Linked DNA regions of Homo sapiens: region 1 is linked to region 2. The links are contacts of gene promoters, found by promoter capture Hi-C in blood cells and fetal thymus (Javierre and others, 2016). All regions are on one chromosome and are shown on one strand. The core of a region is centred on a gene start or on the middle of the fragment in contact, and the rest is flanking DNA. Distances in the headings are between cores, read along the strand shown. Region 1 overlaps MCPH1 (microcephalin 1). Region 2 holds the start of AGPAT5 (1-acylglycerol-3-phosphate O-acyltransferase 5).

What was found. Contacts are between HindIII fragments. The CHiCAGO score rates a contact against its expected background, and 5 or more counts as called.
Region 1: a contact is called between a fragment that was not itself captured here and the fragment with the promoter of AGPAT5 in region 2, in 17 of 17 cell types (total B cells, naive B cells, erythroblasts and 14 more). The highest score is 35.2, in total B cells.

The regions. Positions count from the first base shown.
Region 1 is chr8:6,433,015-6,437,817 of GRCh38, reverse strand. MCPH1 (microcephalin 1) reads right to left here. Exons shown (of 14, transcript NM_024596.5): 5 at 1,656-1,770. Among named protein-coding and RNA genes, the nearest start is that of MCPH1, 29 kb to the right of the region's middle. The HindIII fragment of the contact is 9,018 bases long and covers 1-4,803 here.
Region 2 is chr8:6,706,341-6,710,785 of GRCh38, reverse strand. It overlaps AGPAT5 (1-acylglycerol-3-phosphate O-acyltransferase 5), which reads right to left and starts at 2,144. Exons shown (of 8, transcript NM_018361.5): 1 at 1,899-2,144. The coding sequence starts at 2,117. It overlaps MCPH1-AS1 (MCPH1 antisense RNA 1), which reads left to right and starts at 2,577. Exons shown (of 5, transcript NR_125386.1): 1 at 2,577-2,645. RefSeq lists silencers at 1,751-1,990, 2,051-2,390. The HindIII fragment of the contact is 5,238 bases long and covers 1-4,445 here.

The DNA of each region.
Region 1 (4,803 bases), core at 1,922-4,421, 270 kb after region 2:
GAAGAAGTCAAACAACTATTTCAGAAGCAGGGCCATGGTCTTGATGGGGGTTAGTGTCAGGAAGAAGGAGATGTCAAGGACGATTGCACGTTTCTGGCTTGAGCTTTGACGAAGACGAGACAGCTGGTGTGAAGGAAGGATGGACACGCACCAGGTGAGGCAGCGGGAGGGCTGAGCATGAAACAAATGATGCAGGCCATGTTTCTGGAAAATTATGTGGCAGCACTATGTGGGCTAAGTGTTCTACCCAGTTCTGTCGCATTATCGTCACAGATTTAAAATAAATCTTGGCCGGGCGCGGTGGCTCACGCCTGTAATCCCAGCACTTTGGGAGGCTGAAGCGGGCAGATCACGAGGTCAAGAGTTTGAGATCATCCTGGCCAACATGGTGAAACCCTGTTTCTACTAAAAATACAAAAATCAGCTGGGCGTGGTGGTACGCCCCTATAATCCCAGCTTCTCGGGAGGCTGAGCCAGGAGAATTGCTTGAACCCGGGAGGTGGAGGTTGTAGTGAGCCAAGATCGCACCACTGCACTCCAGCCTGGTGATGGAGAAAGACTCCATCTCAAAAAAATAAATAAAATAAATCTCGACAATTCTATTTGAATAATTTCAAAACACAGAATAGAGAATCTGTGACATAGTAACATAGATTAAAACAAAGAAAACAAAAACTAGAGGAATTAATGCTTCCTAGGAATTTCTAGTGACCATAATTGCTTATCTGTAGCAATGCTGTGTCAGAATTAGTAGGAAATACTGACTTTAGACGACAGTGAAAAAGGCAAAACAGAAATACCAAAAACGTACAAAGCATCTTAATGTTTCATAATATTCTTTTTTTTTTGAGTTGGAGTCTCACTCTGTTGCCCAGGCTGGAGTGCAGTGGTGCAGTCTCGGCTCACTGCAAGCTCTGCCTCCCAGGTTCACCCCATTCTCCTGCCTCAGCCTCCCAAGTAGCTGGGACTACAGGCGCCTGCCACCACTCCCAGCTAATTTTTTTGTATTTTTAGTAGAGACAGGGTTTCAACATGTTAGCCAGGATGGTCTCTATCTCCTGACCTCGTGATCCGCCCGCCTCTGCCTCCCAAAGTGCTGGGATTACAGGCGTGAGCCACTGTGCCCAGCCCATAATATTCTTATATATAAAAATATTATTTAACAATATATATACATAAGAATACATATATTTTTTTCTAAGACATCTTGTTATAGAACATAATATTCTAAAGTATTTTCCCAAATCACTAAAATAATGTATCATCTAAGATTTGCCTATTCAGGGTAACAAAACAAAAATGCCAATTAGGTAAAAATACAAAGTTATATATAAAGAAGAAATAAATAGGTATTTATTTCAATAATGCTTATTAGCCAAAGTTTGCTTTTCTTCTGAAATCATTCCCGAAAATAAAAAGTTCGACCACCTTGATGAATGGTTAAGACTGTGGTCGATTAGCTCAAGCTGCGTGGCTCTATTATGGCTCCCAGCCAAGTCTCCCGCAGGCTCCTGACATTTTGTTTTCTCCTTCATAGAGTAAAGCTATCATAGTCTTCATCAGCTCTCTCATGCTGAACCCCACTAGTCATCATGCAAATTAAACAAGGTGTATGGACACAAATGCAAAGAACTGTATTATATTTCTTAGCTTACCTAGATTTGTTTTTTGCCTTTGTAGCTCTTTAGCCATTTTCTCAAATTTCTTCTGAAATCTCTTATCATTTTCTGGTGTTTTAAAATTAAAATCTTTGGGCTGCATACATTTACGCTGTGCAAAAAGAACACAAAAATTAATGCTGTACTGCAACTGCTTAAGGCAGGAGAAAAAGCCCTTTCGCATACATTTCTGATACCTTTTATAACATCAGTAATAAAAAATTCTAAAAGAGGTGTTTCTTGCACTGTATGTGAACTGGCAATATTTATTTTTTTGTGCAGTTATAAAGAAAATGGACAGAATTTAAAAGACTGTATAAAAGGCTCTGTATTATGCTTTGTGAGACATTTTCATGATCCTAGCATTCTTAGTTTCCATGAAAGTTTTTAGCCAGTCTCTTTCGATTTTTTGCTGTTCTTACCACCAAACCAGCCCAATCTAGTTCAACTTTGTGTATCAAAATGGTGAACTGTTTAATTGCCACGGCCCCTGAAGTTGCAAGTTACGTCACTTGAGCATGCCCAGGTGAACCAAGCATGTAACCACGGGCAGAACCTAAGCACTTAGACCAAGGAACGGGGGCCAAATTAAGGAGTAAACACCTGATGGCATAATCCATGATCCAATCAGATTGAGCCCTGGCATCACCTTGTGACACAACCCAGTCAGATGACACCTCCCAGCATCACCCCATTGCAAGATCCAATCAGATCACACTTTGTTTTCTCTGCCTATGAAACTGCCTGAGCCCCCACCTCAGGGAGGCGGATTTGAGAGTTTCCTCCTGTCTCCTTGCCAGGCAACTTGCAATAAAGCCTTTCTTTTCTCAAAACAAGTGGCATGATCTTGGACTCTATGTGGGTTGGCAGCACGCCCACTGCCTGCTTGGTAGCACTATTCTCACGTCATCCTCCCTGCAAGACCACAACACAGTAATAAAACAATTTCTATTTTATAATTACCAAAGAAAAGAACCATGATTATGCTTGCCCTACCGTCATTAAATCACAGTAACTCCAATCAGCCAGTAAAACCCAAAAACTGTAACTACACTCACAAACACATGAAACCCCAGGCTGATATCCACAGGAAGGTCTTGGGTTAACTCTACTCTTAACCATCCTCAGACAGGGGAAATGTTTCCTTTGAAACACACCTCACGTTCCCAGCCTTACCCACCCCACTTTCTGTTCTTGGAACTGCCCATTGACTTCCCGTCTTTAGCCCAGCCATCAGCACAAATACACATACTGAACTTCACATCGATTTTACCTATAACACTTTTATGCCTGACTTCTTTCTTATAGGACCCCAGGGAAATTTAAGTCATCTGTCTAGGTTCCTTCGTTTTCAGCGCGAAGCTACCAGCCCAAATTTGCTTACATGGGTAGCTAGCTACCCACGTAAACGCTAACTTCTTTTGCTCCAGTCTCATAGAAAGAACTTCTTTTAGCTACTCAAGGCTAATGCCTATACTGGGGATCTTGCTCTGTTAGTTATTCACTCATTTATTGACAAAAAACATGACTTTATGTCAGGCGCTGGTCTTGCAACCTAGAAAGATCCTTGTCATCATGGAGCTTGTATGCTGGTAAGGAATGACAGCAAATAAACATAATAAATAAGTAAATTGTATGTGTCTTGGGAGGTTCATTTCAACAGGCTTGGAACCGGCCTGCACTGCTTTCACTAAAGTACCTGCATGACACAAAATGTACTAATTAGACAGTGGTGCTTTATAGCCACAGGTCCGGGAAGTTTGGGGACAGATTGTGCTGGCCTGTCAACATTGTTTATGAGTAGTGAGATGAAGGATTTGCCTGGAGGCTCTGCCAGTGGGGCTGGTTCATATAGACTCAGGGTCAGCAGTATACAAGAAGACACTCCATCTTGCGCTTCCTGGTTCTCAGGTACGGTGCAGGTTGGACACATTGTTATTTTGGGGTCCTGTGAATCTTCTCTAGCAACTGTATTCCATCAAACTGCCCACATTACTACAGTGTGTTAGGAGGAGCCAGTCAGCACTGCAGATGAAAAGAGACTTGCATAGTTGGCACAAGTGGGAAGGAACTGCTGGTATAAACGGGTGGCAGGATAGGTCTCACAGAGAAAGTAACATCTGCACAAAGCCATAGGGAGGCTGGAAAACGGGTCATGTGTAAGGATTTTGGGGGAAGAATGTTCCAGACAGAGGGAACAGATAACGCAATGGCTCTGAAATAGAAATACGATTGGCATGCTTGAGGAACAGCAAGCTGGGCAGGCAGGCAGCAGACAGGGTGAGGGGGGAGACAGAGGCACAGAACCATCTCAAGGACCCAAAAGAATAAGGCCTTGAGTCGGGTTTAATTTGCAATTACATTTGGAAAAGAGAAGGAAAGGGAAGGTTTTTAGACATGAAAATTAAAGTGGTAAAGTGTACAAGCAATCATTAATGCTTCAGATTAGGAAAAATTAAAAAGATTAGTAACATCCAATATTGGTCAGAGTATCACGAAATAGGTTTTTTTTTTTTTTTTTTTTTTTTTGAGACAGAGCCTTGCTGTCGCCCAGGCTGGAGTGCAGTGGCATGATCTGGGCTCACTGCAACCTCCACCTCCTGGGTTCAAGCAATTCTCCTGCCTCAGCCTCCTGAGTAGCTGGGATTACAGGTGTGCACCACCAGGTTGGGCTAATTTTTGTATTTTTAGTAGAGATGGGGTTTCGCCATGTTGGCCAGGCTGCTCTCAAACTCCTGGCCTCAACTGATTTGCCCGCCTTGGCCTTCTGAAGTGCTGGGATTACAGGTGTGAGCCACTGTATCTGGCCAAGAAATAGGTCATCTTGTATATGATTGGTGGAGCTGGTAAAATCAAAATGTGTATGTATTCTTACCCAGTAATTTTATCTCTAGATATCTGACTTGGAGAAATAAACTCAAATATGTGGCTTAAGTAATATACTTAGCAAAAACTGACAGTGACTAAAAGTACATGAATACCGGAAAAACAGTCACAATGTATAATGCAATACAGAAAACTGAGTAGAGTCAAAGCTACCGACATGAAATGGTCAAAACCATATTGTTAATTGGGGAAGAGAAGGCAACTCACCAAATGATACACATAAGATAGCAGAGCCCCTTCACGTCAAGCATGCATGTGT
Region 2 (4,445 bases), core at 895-3,394:
TGGGTCTTATGTTTGAAGATAGCTATTTATTCCTCTATTGATTTAATCTTAACAGAAACAATAAAAAATATTGAAAGGTAGCTTTGTGTACACAGGAAACCCAGATTGCAGAAAAAGACCCTAATAAATTCAAAATACCCTGCTCTGTTACTAAACAGAAAATAATTATTTGTCCCCTCCATACAATAAAAATAAAAATGCAGGAACAAGAAACTCTTGGTTTTAAATTTTTATTAAATGTTCATAACTTGCATTTGATGATCAGTGGGCAATCAGTTCGTTCTACGACTCCTAAAGAACTTCATCAAGGAACACACATTAAACAAAATTTTGAATTATACTTAAGGGTCCTCAGGCATCCTTTCATAAATGCATGAAAATTAGTGCTGGATGCCACTTCCTTTGATTTGAACAGACGGTGGGGGGAATGATTAGATTAAATGTTTTCAAAATCACTTGCTGGGAAATCAAGAAGTAAATCGGATCTCTGAACATCAGGTAAGGTATGCAATTTCAGAAACACTGCTAGGTTTTACAGCCATTTAAAAAAATAAGAACTTGCCAAACCAAAAAATCCTTCAATGGTGTATTCTGCATCATATTGTGTCCTCTTTGAACAAAAATAACATAACCCGCCACAGATAGAATTATTTTTTTAAGAGGTGAATGACTTTGTGTTCTGAGCTTATATCCCATCCCAGGCCAGTTGTCACATGATGTGGAAGTAAAAACTTAATCATGATAAAAATCATACATTTAGACAAACTTGGTGGAGTTACCATATAAAGGGAAAAAATTAGCCTGAATTATTGAAATTTTTAAATGAGGCCCATTTTAAACGTCAACTACCAGGAAACCATGACCTGGAACAGTATCTTTTTTTCTTTCCAAGGAGACACTTACAGACACTGGTTTAAATGGAGGCCCTGGCCTCTCCTAGTTCCTTCCCCCCAAACAACTTCCAACTGGGGCCATCAAGGGTCGATCAGCAGTGCAACTGCAAACTAAATATAGTACCTGACTGACCACAGGGTAAAAACAGCTGCTGTAGGTGGAAAAAAAAAAAGTTAAAAAGACAAAATGATACCGTCCCATTTCCCCATGCCACCCTAACCCTACCAAGAAAAGTAAAAGAGGACTAGGTGGACATTAGGAATAACCAAGAATAAAGCTGTTCTTTCAAACTGAGAAATAAAAGAAAAATTCACCTTTTTTTTTTTTTTATAACACTTCAAATACCTACTGTTAAAGAGGGCCTTCCACTTTTATGGTTTGTTTCTCAAGTTTAATCTACGAATCCAATCTCTACAGAGAAACAGTAACAGAAAGAAAGTAATCAGACAACAGATCACCCACACATTCAAGCCCAGTTAAAGTTGGCAAGAAATGTATCTAGTTAGGCTTCTACGGTTAACAAATGTATTCATTTCTTCGCCCAGCTTTCACTTGTCCAGGGGAAAGAACACAAGACCGAATTGTACTTCTGTTTCAAGAGGTCACTGTAAAAGCGCACTTCGGAGTGTAGACGTCTCCGATCTGTTCCAACATGACCACCTCTTTGGACCAAAGGCCAGAAACTGCTAAACGCGTGCCCTATTATTTAAAACGTGCATCTGCACCCACTTTGCTAAGCAGCATCAGACCCAGGCGAGGGGCGGGGAAAGGGGCGGCGGGTCCCACTCGTAGCCTCAGGACGACGCAGCCACAGCTTCCTAGAGAGCGATCTCGGCAGAACGGCAGGAAGCATGCGGAGAGGAAGGCGGGGAGGCGGCACGTGCTCTCCGTGCTGGGTCCGCCGGGCCGGCCGGGTGACCCTCGCCAGCTGTGGGGGAGCGGAGAGGTCCGCGCCCCCGGGAGCTCGGGTGGACGCCGAGACCCGGGAGCGGGAGGCGGCTCACCTGGACCCCGGTGTAATTCTCGAAGAAGAAGAGCACCATGCTCTGGTAGACGCAGTAGAGCCGGTCGTCCAGCGCTTGGTAGAAGCGGGCGGGCAGGAAGGCGGAGAGCAGCCGCCAGACCCCCCAGGCCAACACGTAGGTGGGCGCCGTGCCCAGGAGCACGACGCTGGGCAGCAGGTAGCGCATGGAGTACGTGTGGAGCACCAGGGACAGCAGCATCTTCTCAGCTCGGCGGCAGCGAGCTCCGCCTGCGCTCCCCGCCCGCCTCCCGGGCCTCAGTCGCGGCCAGCAGGCGGCCAATCACCGCCCGGGCCCGGGCCGCCGCGCCCGCCACCCGCTCCCAGCCTCCGCCCCCAGCCGCATGGGCCGCGCCGCCGCCCGGGGCCGGGTAGGCGAGTGCGGGGCTGCGTGCGCCGCTCCCGGCGGCAAAGCAAGGGAACCCGCGGCCCTCCCGGATCGATGGCTCAGGGATGCTCACACCCCATGACCCTCACCCATCGCCACATCCCCCTGCCGGGGCAGGGGGCTCCGCGGCAACAACGCGCCTTCTGATTGGTCGCCCGTTGCCATAGTTCCACCTCGGCGGCAATAACACGTCTCTTGATTGGTTGGTTTGGGCCGACAGTTGCAGTACAGCTACCTGCTGGGGCGCGGGCAACCCGGCTCCGGCCACTGCGCATGCTCCCCAGCTGGGCCGGCTGCGGACGCGGGAAGGGAGGTGGTGGCGACTGACGGAACTGGGTGAAGGTGGGTGCTGGCCGGAGGAGGGTCCGGGTGCCTCTTGTTCTGCTCCCTCGGGCCGGACGTGCGCGCGGTCAGGTTTAAGGGTCGCTGGAGCTGCCTGGAACGCGCACCTGCTGCTCACAAGCCCCTGGGCGCCGGGATGCACACAATTAGAGCAGTGAGAAAGTGGGTGTTAACGTTATCGGAGGTCTAATTCTTGCAGGCACCTGGGCCCAGGTTGTAGGCAGCTCGGCCCAGGTCGCGGGGCAGCTCGAGTGTCCCCATCTGCTCACTGCCAGTCCTTTGCAAGGGGACGCCGCCTCCTCAGCCTCCGCTCTGAGTGCGCAGCAGCCCCTCCTGCCCGTCTCTCGCTACCAGGGTGTTTCAGAATTAGGGTCCGTGTTTTTCCCCATCACAGTAATGATGATAATTACATGTTTATGCATAGCTGAAGAACAATCCCACAAGGATATTTCCATACTGTTTATTAGACCTTTTCAGAATTCACTCTTGCTTCATTTCCTCAGAGTCTGTTGGACTTGTTTCTGATTTTTTTTTAATAAGGAGCCTCGTTTTTTTCTGTAGTAATTAAAGTAGTTGCGTGCACATGTGTAATCCATAAAAAGCATACTTTTGTAGCCTTCACTAAAAGCTACGAAGGGTGGATAACTGTTTTATTGATGTTAAAGCAGATCCACAGGACTTTTGGATCTTTCTCCTCCCCTTTGGCTGTGGTAAAAATGGTTTAATATGTAACCCTTTTCAAGGATAGTTGTACTTTAAAAGAATGCCGAATGCTTTACCATATATATATATATATATATATATATATATATATATATATTCCCGCCCCCTCCCCACCACCACCATAATGGGAGCCTGTGCTACCTTTAGGCAGGACGGTATTTCAGTGGGAAGTTCTAATCAGGGCCAGGATGGTAGCTACTTTCTTTATACATGATTAACATCAAATAACAACATCATTGGTAGATGATGACCTTTGGGGACAAAGCCAGGTGAATGGAGATCTCTCAAGTAACAAGTATTTGAAGGCCAGCAGGAAGCATTACACAGTAAAAGGAGCTTCTCTCTTTCTGTGGCTGTCATTGTCCTGTACTGTAAGAAGCACTAGGTTTAGTACTGGTGGAAAAAAGTCACAGGTGTGGACAGTGTGCACAACTAATGCTCCTTATGCTTTCTTTAACTGAGACCAGACATCTCTACACTAGAACAGTGTGCGAAAAGATAAAGCAGGTTCTGTGTTCACGTTAGGATTGCTGTGTATAAAGTCAGTAAATATGTGTTTATGTGTAAATTTGTTGTGAATCACCCCAGATTACTGTTAGTCACGAAGTTGTAAACTTTTGTGCAATGTTTGCCATGAAAACACAGAACTTAACTTTCTCTTGTTCCCTCTTTATCTCCAAACCCAGCTCCTGACTATCAGTTATTGTCTGTCCTGCTCCCGCTCCTCTCTTCCTGCGAACAGTCACAGATCCACCCTCTCTTTCTGCCACTACCCGGCCCTGTTTTTCTGTTTTTTTTTTTTTCCCTTTTTCCGTGCAAACCTCTTAGTTGATAATCAGCCCACACCCTCTGCCTCCTTACCTTGTACTTTTGTTGAGCCCTTGCAGTCTGATGACCTTTTCCTCCCCTTTACTGGAATGGTGCTTCTTTCAGAGCACAGCTGATTTCCTCCTTTGCATACCCTGCTGGGCACCAGTGGAACAGTGAAAGGTGAATTCTGTCTATGCCTTCCTTGTACAACATTTAACAAGGAGTTACCTGTGGGATGAAAAGGGGACATTCTTGGTTCTCTGGGAG